3 separate regions of the Homo sapiens genome follow, and regions 2 and 3 are each linked to region 1. The links are contacts of gene promoters, found by promoter capture Hi-C in blood cells and fetal thymus (Javierre and others, 2016). All regions are on one chromosome and are shown on one strand. The core of a region is centred on a gene start or on the middle of the fragment in contact, and the rest is flanking DNA. Distances in the headings are between cores, read along the strand shown. Region 1 holds the start of WDR53 (WD repeat domain 53). Region 2 overlaps PCYT1A (phosphate cytidylyltransferase 1A, choline). Region 3 overlaps PIGZ (phosphatidylinositol glycan anchor biosynthesis class Z (Gwada blood group)).

Region 1 (4,735 bases), core at 1,335-3,834:
AAGTAGGACAAAATTCCAATCGTCTGTACTCACCTATATAAATTACAACCAGTATCCACTGAATAGCCACCACGCACAAACAGTCCTAGTAAATTATTGTTATTTCGCTTAATAGAAAAACAACTTGAGGCCGGGCGCATGAGCTCACGCCTGTAATCCCAGCACTTTGGGAGGCCAAGGCGACGGATCACGAGGTCAGGAGATTGAGACCATGCTGGTTAACACGGTGAAACCCTGTCTCTACTGAAAGTACAAAAAATTAGCCGGGCGTGGTGGCGGGCGCCTGTAATCCCAGCTACTCAGGAGGCTGAGGCAGGAGAATGGCGTGAACCCGGGAGGCGGAGGTTGCAGTGAGCTGAGATCCCGCCACTGCACTCCAGCCTGGGTGACAGAGCGAGACTCCGTCTCAAAAAAAAAAAAAAAAAGAAAAAAGAAAAGAGAAACAACTTGATAGTTTACATATTTAATGGCAATGTTCCCTATCTTCTATAACTAAAACCGGTTTTACTACATAAGTATAAATTTTACATGCTTCACATGAAAAAAAAATTTTTACTTCTTACTCCGACCCCTGTTGGCAAGCTAGCATTAAAAAGGGGGTGTTATCGCGCGGTGGCTCACGCCTCTAATCCCAGCACTCTGGGAGGCCGAGGAGGGCGGATCACCTGAGGTCGGGAGTTCGAGGCCAGCCTAACCAACAAGAAGAAACCACAACTCTACTAAAAATACAAAATTAGCCGGGCATGGTGGCGCATGCCTGTAATCCCAGCTACTCGGGAGGCTGAGGCAAGACAATTGCTTGAACCTGGAAGGCGGAGGTTGCGGTGAGCCGAGATCACGCCATTGCACTCCGTCTCAAAAAAAAAAAAAAAGGGGGGGATGTTATCGTTTTAGTTACTAATGCATTCATTATGTTTAACACATTGCAATCAGACTTTATCTTCTCTTATATATGATCTTGATTGACTGCTATACTGAATAGCTGTTAACCATTCAACTCAACTCAAGACCAAGACCCTTTGTTTATTCGGCCTGAGAGTCCTTTCAGCCGTACCACAACTTGTTCCTTGACATTTTTATTTTGTATATGAAGGCGGGCGGAATATGCAGGAAGGATGCAGCGAAACTGTAATCAGCACGTTAGATGACAAATAGAAAAAGAGAGACACCATCAATGTGGAACTATTAAAAAGTTAGCAAGGAAACAGCCAATAACAGCAGGACAAAGCAGTATGTTAGGTGGTGCCCGTGGACGTTCTATAAAAGCCTGTATCTTGTAAGTGAGCAGGATGACTAGAACTACACTCACTTGTAAGCCTCCAATATAGTGGAGGGAACTAAAGAGAACTTGGGGGAAAATAATGAAAACAAATGGTTAAAAATCAGAGCTTGGAAAAGATGAGATAAACGTGGAGTGAAAGCAAACTAGAAACTTAGAAACTTAGAAACTAAGCCCATGTTAAGGTGGCCGGGATTATTTAATATAATGAAGTCTATCTGGAGGCCGGGGAGAAAAGTAGGATGAGGGCATTAAAAGGTACAAGAGTGGTGGTCTGTCTTTAACGGGGAAAACTGTCAAAAGTTGAATGAGTGAGGCAAACTACCTAGTTGTTTGAAAAGTGGATCACGGAAGTGGGATGGGTTAAGGAGCAGAACTTCGATCCAAAGAAAAGAGAATCTTTATCTTGGGGGGAGGTGAGGAAGATACTGACTGGAGCCGTGGAAAGGCGGGCTGGTGAGGCGAAGCTTCTGACTCAGAAGCTCGGATGAGAAACACCGCGAACGACGCCGGGGAGCGGGACTGGGGGCAGCGGTGTGGCCCGGGGCTCTCTCACCTTGGCCTTGTAGCTGGGCAGGTTGCACAGGATGTCCGTGCGCAGAGCCTCTTCTGCCAGGCTGCGGGCGCACAGGCTCCGCCACACCTCGCTGTTCTCATCGCCGTGCAGGCAGCGGTACCAGTGCTTGCACACCAGGGCGCAGCTCCGCAGCTCGGACAGCTCCAGGTAAGAGAACACCAACTCCAGCACCCGGCTGGGCAGCCGGCCCCCGGCCCCCGCGGCCCCAGAGCCCGAGCCCGCGCCCGCGCCCGCGCCGCCGCCGCTACAGCCAGCGCCGCCCGAGGCTGCCCCAGCCCCCGGGGCCGGCGCCGCCATCGCCTCACCAGCCGGCCCTAGGGCCGCCGCTGCCGCCGCCGCTTCCCGCCGTCTCTGCTCGGAAGGCCAAGCCTCGCCCGGAGACCGGAGCGGCTCGCTCACCGCCCCTGTCAGTGCCAACCGCCGGCGCCTCCACCACTCCCGCCCCTGCCCGGGGGCGTCCGCCGCGCGCCCCGCCTCACTGAGGGCAGACGCACCGGCTGCAGGGGCGTCCTCCGCCCCTCCTCCGCGGCTCAGCGCGGGCGCCGAAACCGCCCGACTCGCCCGGCCTCTCCGCGGCGCGCCAGCGGCTCCGCCATGCGGGTTGAGGGCACGAAGCAAGGGCGCACGCCCAGCTCGTTCGCGGTTCCTCTCGGCCCCGGATGTGACTGTTTGGCTGCGCCGCCTCACGCCTGACGCTCGACGGGATTGGGCGCCGGCGGGTGAGGTTATCACTAGGCGCCGAGGAGGGGAGCGGGAAGCGCAGGTATGAGGCTGGCGCCGGTGGCTTCGATGCTGCTTTCCGGTGACTTCGATGCTGTTTTCCAGTGCTTTTTCCTTTTTCTGGTCTGGTGGCTCCGCGTCTGCTCTCCTGGGCTCCCTTTCCTGTGACGTTTCCCTGTGTCCGTTAGGTCCTTGCTTCAGACTCCAGCTCAACGCATGAAACTTTTCTCTCCTTGCTTGCCGGGTCCTGGCTCCCCAACCTTTTTGTGTAGCTTGGGCAGCGGAGGCCGTCTTTACCTGGTCAGGCCCTCTCGTTCTCCCTAAGTATCGGCACTTAGCGAACGTCTGTCCCTGTGTGCCTTCGCAAAGTAAGGTGGCTGCGACTGAACACCCCCTCGCCCAAACGTTCGAGTGCCATTTGAGCGCTAATTAAGTGCTGCCGTCTTTTGGACAAGATGTGGTCTTTACTGGATCCACCGCTTAGTAAGCAGATGAAGGCAATGTAGTTTTAGTCAATTAAACATTCCAATAGGGAGAATGACGTGGAGGCTATAATTATAGATGGATTCTTGGAAGGGGAAGAATTTCAGCATCCCAGCTTGGGCAACATTGCGAGGCAGTGTCGCTACAAAAAAATAGAAAAATTAGCCGAGGGTGGTGGCGTGCGCCTCTGGTCCCAGCTACTTGGGAGGCTGAGCCCGGGAGGTCGAGGCTGAGGTGAACCGTAATCGCCCTGCTGTGCTCCAGCCTGGGCGACAGAGTGAGCCCCTACCTCACACACACACACACACACACACACACACACACACAAGAATTTCAGCATTATTTGATTATACTACGATTTCCTAGGTGGCCCCAAAGTTTTCCGACAGCCTTTAAAGCATGCTTAGTAAGAGAATAATAATAACCATCATTTGAGCCACGGTGTGAACCAGGCACTGTATACTACGTCATTTACGCAGATTTTTATATACGTAATCCTCAAAACAACTCCATGAGCTGAGTAATTAAAATAATAGGGTTCACAGACTCCCTTGGTCAACTCCAATGTCTTGGAACCTTTATGTAGTAAGAAATCTTTTCTGAAGCTTCTTGCTATGTATAATCCATTTCTTAGTCTCTAGTAAAAGCAAAGGAACGGTGGCTACCTTCCCTACCCTCTGATTCATGGTGTTTGATTATTATTTGCCTGTCCCTTCTCCTCATGTCTTTTTCACCAAGTCCAGTAACCCTAATTCTTTTCATTCTTACCAGTGCCAGCGCCACAGCCCTTCAATCATTTTGGTTGCTATCCAGCTTCTCCACATCAAGTCCAACTTCAGAAACCCCAAGCCTGTAGAGAAAAGTTGACCTGTGCTGACTCTGGTGATGGTGACTGTCTCTCACTAATTTCTTTGAAGTCTTCAAGGATAAGCAGAGTTGATCCATCTGAGAAAGGGATCATGAACTAGACAGAATGAACAGCCTTAGAGGCACAGACTCTTGAACGGGACGGTGGTGGTATGACTAGTGCAGAGTGTTTAGAGATCACTCAGTTTTTAAAGACTGGCCTTTATCGTGTCTCAGTGCAGCCGAGGCAGAGCCTTTGAAGGATGCGATGTTGTCATTCTTACTAATCTAGTCCAGCCGCTGAGGTGACTTTCAACGGCAGACCGTCTCCTGAGCGCCCCAGGTAGAATTTCAAAGTAAGATTACCCTTCTCAACCCCTCCTTTTCTTTTTTACAAATCTTTCACCTGCTCATCACCCACCCCACCAAGCCCCTTCCCCATGTTCAGTACTCTCATTCTGCGCTCTGGCTGATGAGAACTGCCGGCTGTGGCACTTCACCCTTTTAAAAAATGCTCTCGGCCGGGTGCCGTGGCTCACGCCTGGAATCCCAGCACTTTGGGAGGCCGAAGCGGGCGGATCACCTGCAGTCAGGAGTTTGAGACCAGCCTGGCCAACATGGTGAAACCCCATCTCTACCAAACATACAAAAATTAACCGGGCGTGGTGGTGCATGCCTGTAGTTCCAGCTACTCAGGAGGCTGAGGCACAAGAATCGCTTGAACCTGGGAGACGGAGGTTGCAGTGAGCCGAGATTGCACCATTGCACTCCAGCCTGGGCGACGAGAGCGAAACTCTGTCTCAAAAAAAAAAAAAAGAAAAAAATGCTCT
Region 2 (4,942 bases), core at 2,410-4,909, 320 kb after region 1:
CCAAGTTGATCTTTTGTTTTGTTTTGTTTTTGAGACAGAGTCTCGCTTGTCAACCAGGCTGGAGTGCGGTGGTGTGATCTCAGCTCACTGCAACATTTCCCTTCTGGGTTCAAGCAGTTCTCAAATCTCAGCCTCCCAAGTAGCTGGGATTACAGGAGTGAGCCACCGTGCCGGGCCTGTTTCCAAGTTTTAAAGCTTATAATTAACAAGTCCTGACTGGTATAATTGTTTTTAATTTTAGAATTATAGGATTTTACAAATAAGTCATTTTCAAGATTATCTACTTTATAGTTTCTTCATTAAGTACATAAAGCAATTAAGGTCCATAGTAACCAAGAAGCGAAGGCTTCCCCTACAGTAAAACGGATGATTAGTGGAATAGAATTGCAGCTCAAACCTCACCCGGGAATGGTGCTACTCATTGTAAGCATTAGAATAGAAGGCCTTCAGCAAAATAATTGTATTTTTGGTGGAACAAACAGCCACAAATTAGCCTATAAATTTGCCAGCTTAATTTGAACTCTGGTTTTTCTCTTAGATCTCATTTTGTCTGACTGTTTTATGTTAAATCACCAAGTAGGTAACTGCATTCATGCCAGTGCAGGACAAGGAATAAAGCAATAAAGAATGCACCTGCTCTAGTGAAGTTTCAACACCTCCCTCCTGCTCCCCAGGTTTTTACGAGGGAGGTTGTATAATCTAGGAGAAGATTCTCTACTTAGAGAAAAACAAATATGATTTGAGAGACAAGAAGGTCAGCTCTAGGAATCTTTTGGGAGATGAAAAAAATCAGCAATATGTTTAACTCAGAGAAAGGAAGGAAAAGGGAGAGTGTGAAGGGCAATGGAAATGTTAGGAACAGAATGTTTCGGTGGTAGGTATTTGGGAGAGTAAATCTATCAAAAGAGATCATTAACTGAAACCCAGGTTTCTTCTGCCTAAAGGAGGACATATGGTTACTTAGTCACCAGTGGTGCAGCGTATAATTCATAACCCACATAAACCATATAATTTATCATCCAAATCAGGACGGTTTTGAGCATGAAAGGGAGTTGCTGTTAATAATATACAGAGGTTGAGTGTGGTGGCTCATGCCTATAATCCCAGCACTTTGGGAGGCCAAGGCAGAAGGATTGCTTGAGGCTAGGAATTCAAGGCCAGCCTGGGCAATACAGTGAGATCCCATCTCTACAAAAATTTTAATAATTAGCCAGGTGTGGTGGTGTGCATCTATAGTCCCAGCCACTCAGGAGGCTGAGGTGAGAGGATTGTTTGAGCCCAGGAGGTCTAGACCACGGCAAGTCATGATTGCACCACTGCACTTCAGCCTGGGTGACAGAGACCCTATCTTAAAAAATAAATAAATACATAAATAAAAATTAAAAAAATATATATATAGGCCAGGTACAGTGACTCACACCTGTAATCCCAGCACTTTGGAAAGCTGAGGTGGGTGGATCATAAGGTCAGGAGATCGAGACCATCCTGGCTAACATGGTGAAACCCCGTCTCTACTAAAAATATAAAAAATTAGCCAGGCGTGGTGGCACACACCTGTAATCCCAGCTATTCAGGAGGCTGAGACAGGAGAATCACTTGAGCCTGGGAGGCAGAGGTTGCAGTGAGCCTAGGTCACGTCACTGCACTCTAGCCTGGGCGACAGAGTGAGACTCCGTCTCAAAAAAAAAAAATCTATCTATCTATCTATATAACATATATACATATGTAATATATGCATAATATATAAATGATATTAAATATGTATTATATAGTACATTATATAATAGAAACAGGAAAAATTATATTAAAAGTATATAATTTATATAAATATGATTATATATACTATAACATACATTAAATCAGGGGTGTGTTTATCCTGGCCAATAGCCACTTGGTAAAAGAATGGCTAACGCTAGCTTTCTTCCCAGACTAGTTCAACAGTGACCCCTTCTGGCCGTTTGGTTAATATATCAGCCTGGGTTTGCCAAAGACTTGGGATGGAATGGTGGCCAGTTGAGATGTTGGTAGGCTGGGGAAGCACTGGAGAGAGCAAGAGGCGCATCTGGGATTGGTCTGAGAAAAGGTTCAGTGATCTACTTGGCCTAACATAGGATGATTAGCTGTGCTGCAAGCAGCCACTTGATCAACAGCATTCTGTGCTATTGCCACCATCCAGGCAATGTGTTTCTTGAGCAAAATTTCCCTGCTGTATGCTGTCTAGTAGCAAAGAAACAACAAAGTAGTCTTCATTTGTATATTCTATCCCTTGTGTTTCAGGATCGAATAGTGTGAGATCATAGCCCCTCTGGACTTGTTTAGGGAAAATGGAACTATGTTAGTTACTTCATGGACGTGACTTCTGGGATACTTCAATTTTTTTTTTTTTTGAGACAGAGTCTTGCTCTGTCTCGCAGGCTGGAGTGCAGTGGCGCGATCTCAGCTCACTGCAACCTCTGCCTCCTGGGTTCAAGAGATTCTCCTGCCTCAGCCTCCCGAGTAGCTGGGATTACAGGCGCCCACCACCATACCCAGCTAATTTTTGTATTTTTAGTAGACACAGGGTTTCACCATGTTGGCCAGGCTGGCCTCAACTGCTGACCTCAGGTGATCCACCTGCCTTGGCCTCCCAAAGTGCTGGGATTACAGGCGTGAGCCACTGTGCCCGGCCCAAAAATCTTTTTAATGTATTATTTTTTAATAGGCATAGAGCCAATGCAGTGATTTCTGGGACATAGAAGGGGGATTATATGCTCAAATTTTGTTTTATTTTGCTTTGTCTTATTAAAAATTATCTTTTTAAAAATATTTTTTTCTTCTTTTTTTTTAGTTGACACATGCTGGCAGTAAAAAATAATTTTAATAGAGATAGGGTTTCACTGTGTTGCCCAGGCTGGTCTCAGACTCCTGGGCTCAAGCAGTCCTCCTACCTTGGTCTCCCAAGGTGCTGGAATTACAGGTGTGAGCTACTGTACCCAGCCTGCTTTCTCTCATAGATGAGAAAACTGAGGCATAAGGAAGTTAAGGTTACAGAGGAAGAAAGCTGGTTGGAAAGCTTGGTCAAAGCTTGAGCTATGACCTTTCTGACTCTTAAATCCATTAATTAATTCTTAGTTTTTCATTGGATTGGTATATTTAATTTAAAATTTTTATTTCCTGTATTATAAAATCAATACAACCAGCCTGGGCTGGGCATGGTGGCTCACGCCCGTAATCCCAGAACTTCGGGAGGCCAAGGCGGGCAGATCACTTGAGGTCAGGAAATTGAGACCAGCCTGGCCAACATGGGATACGAATATAAAAATACAAAAATTATCCCGGCTTGGTGGCTTTCGCCTGTAATCCCAGTGACTTGGGAGGCTGAGGCAGGATAGTCACTTGAACCCAGGAGGCAGAGGTTGCAGTGAGCCTAGATCATGTCACCACACTCCAGCCTGGGCAACAGAGCAAGACTCCATCTCAAATAAATAAATAAATAAAAATACAACTAGCTTGGGCAACATGTGAAACCCCATCTGTACAAAAAATACAAAAATCAGCTGAGCGTAGTGGTGTGCGCTGTAGCCAGTGGGGCGTGGCGGTGTGCACTGTAGCCAGTGGGGCGTGGCGGGGTGCGCTGTAGTCTGCGGGGCGTGGCGGGGTGCGCTGTAGTCAGCGGGGCGTGGTGGTGTGCGCTGTAGTCCCAGCTTCTCGGGAGGCTGAGGCGGGAGGATCATTTGAGCCTGGGAGGTGGAGGTTTCAGTGATCTGAGACCATGCCACTGCACTCCAGCCAGGGTGACAGAGCCAGACCCTGTCTCAAAAAATCAAATCAAGTGAAATCAATACATTCCCACAGTTTAATATCCATAAAATACAAAAAGGGCATAAAGTAAAATGTCTCCCTCTCAAGACCTGTCTCACAGCCACCTGGTATCCCTATAACAGGCCACCAATATTACCCATTTCTGTGAATATCTAAGTAAATTGTTTATATATCCTCCCACCTTTTAGTGGGTGTATTATGCTATATTCAATCTTCCGTTGAAATGTAGGTCGTTTCCTGACTGTTGCTATTATAAACAGTACTGCAATGAATAACATCTATATTTACTGTGAGATAATTCCCAGAATTAGAAAAGCTGGGCCACAGCTATAAGCATTTGTCGTTTGTCTTTTGATAGATACGACCTAATTGCCCTTCTTGAAAGTTGCTGATACTCCTTTCAGCAGTGTATGATTTCTTGGTTTAAAATCTACTTATTTATGAGTAAAGCTTTTTGAAAACAAAAATTCATAAACCTCCTGAGAACTACTTTCCTTCTCCTTCATTCATTGCCCTGAAGACAGGAAGGAGATGTATCTGATCCTCAACCTCAGCATGGTGTATCTGATCCTCAGCCTCAGCATAGTGTATCTGGTCCTCAGCCTCAGCATAGTGTATCTGATCCTCAACCTCAGCATGGTGTATCTGGTCCTCAACCTCAGCATGGTGTATCTGGTCCTCAGCCTCAGCATGGTGTATCTGGTCCTCAGCCTCAGCATGGTGTATCTGGTCCTCAGCCTCAGCATGGTGTATGTGATCCTCAGCCTCAGCATGGTGTATCTGGTCCTCAGCCTCAGCATGGTGTATCTGATCCTCAGCCTCAGCATGGTGTATCTGGTCCTCAGCCTCAGCATGGTGTATCTGGTCCTCAGCCTCAGCATGGTGTATCTGGTCCTCAGCCTCAGCATGGTGTATCTGGTCCTCAGCCTCAGCATAGGGTATCTGGTCCTCAACCTCAGCATAGTGTATCTGATCCTCAGCATAGTGTATCTGGTCCTCAGCCTCAGCATGGTGTATCTGGTCCTCAGCCTCAGCATAGTGTATCTGATCCTCAACCTCAGCATGGTGTATCTGATCCTCAGCATAGTGTATCTGGTCCTCAACCTCAGCATAGTGTATCTGATCCTCAGCATAGTGTATC
Region 3 (4,647 bases), core at 828-3,327, 390 kb before region 1:
TGCCTTTGCCTTCCACCATGATTGTGAGGCCTCCCCAGCCATGTGGAACTGTGAGTCCATTAAACCTCTTTTCCTTTATAAATTACCCAGTTTCGGGTATGTCTTTATCAGCAGCATATAGTCTAATGAAGGATTACTTTCTATAAATGACAAAGGGTCCTAATCCACAGGTTCGAGAAGCCAAAAAACTTTCGACTATAATAAATAAAAAGAAATGTGCACCCAGAATAATCATAGTGAAGACACATAACATAGTATACTAAATATTAAAATATTAAATAATATATGGTATTTTATAGCATATTGGAAACTGAGTATATGTAACTTCCAAACTGTTAGAGAAAAGAGAAAAAAAACTAATTCAAAAGAAGGCAAGAAAGGACAAAAAAAATTGAAAAAACAAGACAAGAAAACACAAAATAAGATGGTATAAATAAATGTATCAATAATAACCCTAAATTGGCCGGGCGCAGTGGCTGACATCTGTAATCCCAGCATCTTGGGAGGCTGAGGTGGGCAGATCACCTGAGGTCAGGAGTTCGAGACCAGCATGGCCAACACGGCAAAACCCCGTCTCTACTAAAAATACAAAAATTAGGCAGCCGTGGTGGTGCGCACCTATAGTCCCAGCTACTCGGGAGGCTGAGGCAGGAGAATCGCTTGAACCCAGGAGGGGCAGAGGTTGCAGTGAGCCAAGATCATGCCACTGCACTCCAGCCTGGGCAGCAGAGCGAGACTATCTCAAAAAAAAAAAAAAAAAAAAGAAAGAAAGAAAAGAAAAGAAAAGGCTGGAAAATGATGTACCAGGTAAATACTAAGTTTCCAAAAAGTGTGTATAGCAACAGTAATATCAGAAAAAATATATTTTAGGACAAAACAGAACTAGAGATTAAAAGATTACTATATAATGATAAGATATTCAATTTTCCAATAAGGCATAACAATTATAAACTTCTACAAATATAATAATATAGCTTCAAAAATGAACTAAAATTGACAGAATTACAAGGAAAATTAGACAAGTCAACTATTTCATGAGCTAGTTCAACACACATTTCTGTGATTGATAAAATAAGCAGTAAAAAATCAATAAATTAAGAATATAAAAGATTTGGGCCAGGCAAGGTGGCTCATGCATGTAATCCGAGCACTTTGGGAGGCCAAGGTGGGAGGATTGCTTGAACGCAGGAGGTCAAGACCAGCCTGGGCAACATAGCAAGACTTTGTCTCTACAAAAAATTTAAAAATTAACCAAGGATGGTGGCACATACCCGTCTTCCTAGCTACTCAGGAGGCTGAGGTCAGAGGATCGCTTGATCCCAGGAGGTCGAGGCTACAGTAAGCCATGATCGTGCCACTGCACTCCAGACTGGGCAACGCAGTGAGACCCTATCTCAAAAAAAAAAAAAGATTTCAACAACACAACTAATAAGCTTGATCTAATGACAACTTATAGAACTCCATATCCAGTAAGTATAGAATGTATGGTGTTCTCAAGCATCCATGGAATATCTACAAAAATGACCATTAAAAATTAAATCCTTCAACCATAAGGCATTTGTGGAGGAAGAAATTACAATGGCAATTAGAAATATTTAGAACCAAAAGTTGATGAAATTATTACATAGCAAAACTTGCAGTGTACAGTTAATACTAATTTAGAGAAAACTGTGTGGCCTTCAACACTTCTCATAGAAAATAAGGCTCCAAATTAACGAGCTGTGCTCATAGCAAAAAATCTGAAATAAAACAATGAAATAATCACCCAAAAGAGTAAAAGGAAAGAAAAAATAAAGATGAGCAAAGAAATTAAAAACAAGGGCAAAAGTTGATGTTTTGAAGAAATTCGCAAAATCAACACAATTCTGGTGACGATTATAAAGAAAGAAAAAAGAATGCACAAGTAAACCAATATTAGGAATAAAAATCAGTTTAGAATATAAGCTACAGTACAAACTACAGTTAGAAGATTTAATTTCTAATGTTTGATAGCAGAGTAGGGTAACTATAGTTAACAACGTTTTCTTTTTAAAAAAAACTTTTTATTGATTGATTGAGACAGAGTCTTGCTCTGTCCTCCAGGCTAGGGTGCTGTGGTGTGATCTCAGCTCACCACAACCTCCACCTCCTGGGTCCAAGCAATTCTCATGCCTTAGCCACCCGAGTAGCTGGGATTACAGGTGCACACCACCACACCTGGCTAAATTTTGTATTTTTTTGGTAAAGACAGGTTTTTGCCATGTTGGCCAGGCTGGTCTCAAACTCCTGACTTAAAGCAATCTGCCTGCCTCAGCCTCCCAAAGGGCTGGGATTCCAGGTGTGAGCCACCGCACCTGGCTTTTTTTTTTTGACAGGGTCTTGCTCTGTCACCTAGGCAGAAGTGCAGTAGTGTGATCATAGCTCTCTGCAGCCTCAAATTCCTGGGTTCAAGTGATCCTCTTGTCTCAGCCTCCTGAATAGCTGGGATTACCAGCACACACCACTGTGTCCAGCTATTTTTTCGTAGAAATGGGGATCTCACTTTGCTGCCCAGGCTGGTCTGACCTCCTGGTTTCAAGCGATCCTTTCATCTCAGCCTCCCAAAGTTCTGGGATTATAGGTGTGAGCCACCTGACATTACACCTGAGAGCAAGAACTATTTAAGGTCAGAATTTAAAATATCAAGAAGTCAGGGCAACATCACTATTTCTGGAGGAGGGACAAGCAGGTTGTCAAGCTTGCTTTCCTGTTCAGCAGTGATGCTGTGGACTTACAGATCCAGCATGCCATGGGCTCAGATTGTCACTGCTCTTTGAGTTACATAGAAAACTTCTGAGATGCAGTTAATACTATATTTGAGTTGAGGGAGTTAGGATTCTCATCATATAGAGTTACAAATGTTCCCATCACCTTCCAAAAGGCAGGTTCCAGGGTGTGTGAAAGTTGGAGGGAGTGACTGGAAACAATGGGGTTGAGTGTAATTTTTGCAGGGAAATGGGTGGCATCCGTTGACTTTCCCAAGTTTTCAGAAATGCAAGAAGCAGCCTGCCATACTGGCCTGTGGATAGGAGCTGGTGATCAGGATGGGCTGCAAGACCCAGATTTGTTGGGTACCCTGATCTTCCTTGCAAATGTCACATTGAGCAAATGTCATATTTAGACCCTGTATAAGTCAGGATTCTCCAGAGAAACAGAAACAATAGGGAACTGGCTTTATCATTTACTATGAAAATTAGCTCATGCAATTATGGGGGCTGGTGAAGTCCCACAATCTGACACCTGCAAGCTGGAGAACCAGGAAAGCTGGTGGTTGAATTCAGTCTGAGTCGGGAGCCTTAGAAACAGAGGAGCCTACAGTGTAACTCCCAGTCCTAGTCCGACGGCCTGAGAGCTTGATTCAGGGAGGTGGGTTGGGGCACACTGGTGTGAGACATAGAGTCTGAAGACCCAAGAACCAGGAGCACCGATGTCTGAGGCAGGAGAAGATGGCTATCCCAGCTGAAGAGAGTGCAAATTCACCCTTCCTCCACCTTTCTGTTTTATTCAGACCCTCAATGGGTTGGATCATGCCCACCCACACTGGTGCAGCTGATCTTCTTAGTCTACCAATTCAAAGGCTAATCTTAGCTGGGCACGGTGGCTCACGCCTGTAATCCCAGGAGTTTGGGAGGCCAAAGTGGGCGGATCATGAGGTCAGGAGTTCAAGACCAGCCTCACCAACATGATGAAACCCCGTCTCTACTAAAAATACAAAAATTAGCCGGGCGTAGTGGCGTGTGCCTGTAATCCCAGCTTCTCAGGAGGCTGAGGCAGGAGAATCACTTGAACCTGGGAGGTGGAGGTTGCGGTGAGCCCAGATCATGCCACCGCACTCCAGCCTGGGTGACAGAGCAAGACTTCGTCTCAAAAAACAAACAAACAAAAAAACCACAACAAAGGCTAATCTCTCCCTGAAATACCCTTATAGACACTGCCAGAAATAATGTTCTACCAGCTATCTGGGTATCTCTTAGGCCAGTCAAGTGGACACATAAAATGAACCATCAGACTCCTTAGCAAATATGATCAGCAAGTAACCAAGTTACTCAGCAGAGGCCTCCGTTTCCCCATCTGTACAACAGGGATCCTAAGACCCACTGCTCCAGACTGTGGAAAGGATTAAATGAAATATGCATGTCACGTGCCTGGCAGTTAGTGGGCATAGAGTATGAAGTAGCTATTATTATTATTGTCATTTTTATTAAATGACAGATCCATTTTCAGTTTGTTCAGACAGTTGAATATATTATAATTTACATCGTGATAACCAACAACTGTTATCCTCAACAGATGCAGATCTGTGGATCCAGCGTAGCATCTGTAGCAGCTGGGACATCATTCCAGGTTTTGGGCCCGGTGTGTTGGCAACAACTGGATCTGAAGATGGCAGTCAGGGTGCTTTGGGGTGGTCTCAGCCTGCTCCGAGTGCTGTGGTGTCTCCTTCCGCAGACGGGCTATGTGCACCCAGATGAGTTCTTCCAGTCCCCTGAGGTGATGGCAGGTAAAACTCCGCATGTGTGGCTGAGACAAGCTGCAGCAGAGTCTGCTTGAGAAGCTGACGGGAGACTTTGTGGGGAGGGAGTAGCATGTCTGGGTAGATGAGTAGTAAATCCACAAGCAGAGCAGCAG

The links. Contacts are between HindIII fragments. The CHiCAGO score rates a contact against its expected background, and 5 or more counts as called.
Region 2: a contact is called between a fragment that was not itself captured here and the fragment with the promoter of WDR53 in region 1, in 11 of 17 cell types (naive CD8 T cells, megakaryocytes, naive CD4 T cells and 8 more). The highest score is 8.7, in naive CD8 T cells.
Region 3: a contact is called between a fragment that was not itself captured here and the fragment with the promoter of WDR53 in region 1, in 3 of 17 cell types (fetal thymus, endothelial precursors and naive B cells). The highest score is 5.2, in fetal thymus.

Annotation. Positions count from the first base shown.
Region 1 is chr3:196,566,403-196,571,137 of GRCh38, reverse strand. WDR53 (WD repeat domain 53) reads left to right here and starts at 2,584. Exons shown (of 4, transcript NM_182627.3): 1 at 2,584-2,619; 2 at 3,831-4,261. FBXO45 (F-box protein 45) reads right to left here and starts at 2,478. Exons shown (of 3, transcript NM_001105573.2): 1 at 1,836-2,478. The coding sequence starts at 2,153. RefSeq lists enhancers at 129-676, 677-1,225, 3,243-4,442 and silencers at 1,566-1,860, 1,982-2,521. The HindIII fragment of the contact is 1,918 bases long and covers 1,749-3,666 here.
Region 2 is chr3:196,250,782-196,255,723 of GRCh38, reverse strand. The region is part of intron 3 of PCYT1A (phosphate cytidylyltransferase 1A, choline); the gene reads left to right. Among named protein-coding and RNA genes, the nearest start is that of PCYT1A, 34 kb to the left of the region's middle. The HindIII fragment of the contact is 1,188 bases long and covers 3,066-4,253 here.
Region 3 is chr3:196,951,693-196,956,339 of GRCh38, reverse strand. It overlaps PIGZ (phosphatidylinositol glycan anchor biosynthesis class Z (Gwada blood group)), which reads left to right. Exons shown (of 3, transcript NM_025163.4): 2 at 4,309-4,519. The coding sequence starts at 4,309. Among named protein-coding and RNA genes, the nearest start is that of NCBP2AS2, 11 kb to the right of the region's middle. The HindIII fragment of the contact is 1,283 bases long and covers 1,436-2,718 here.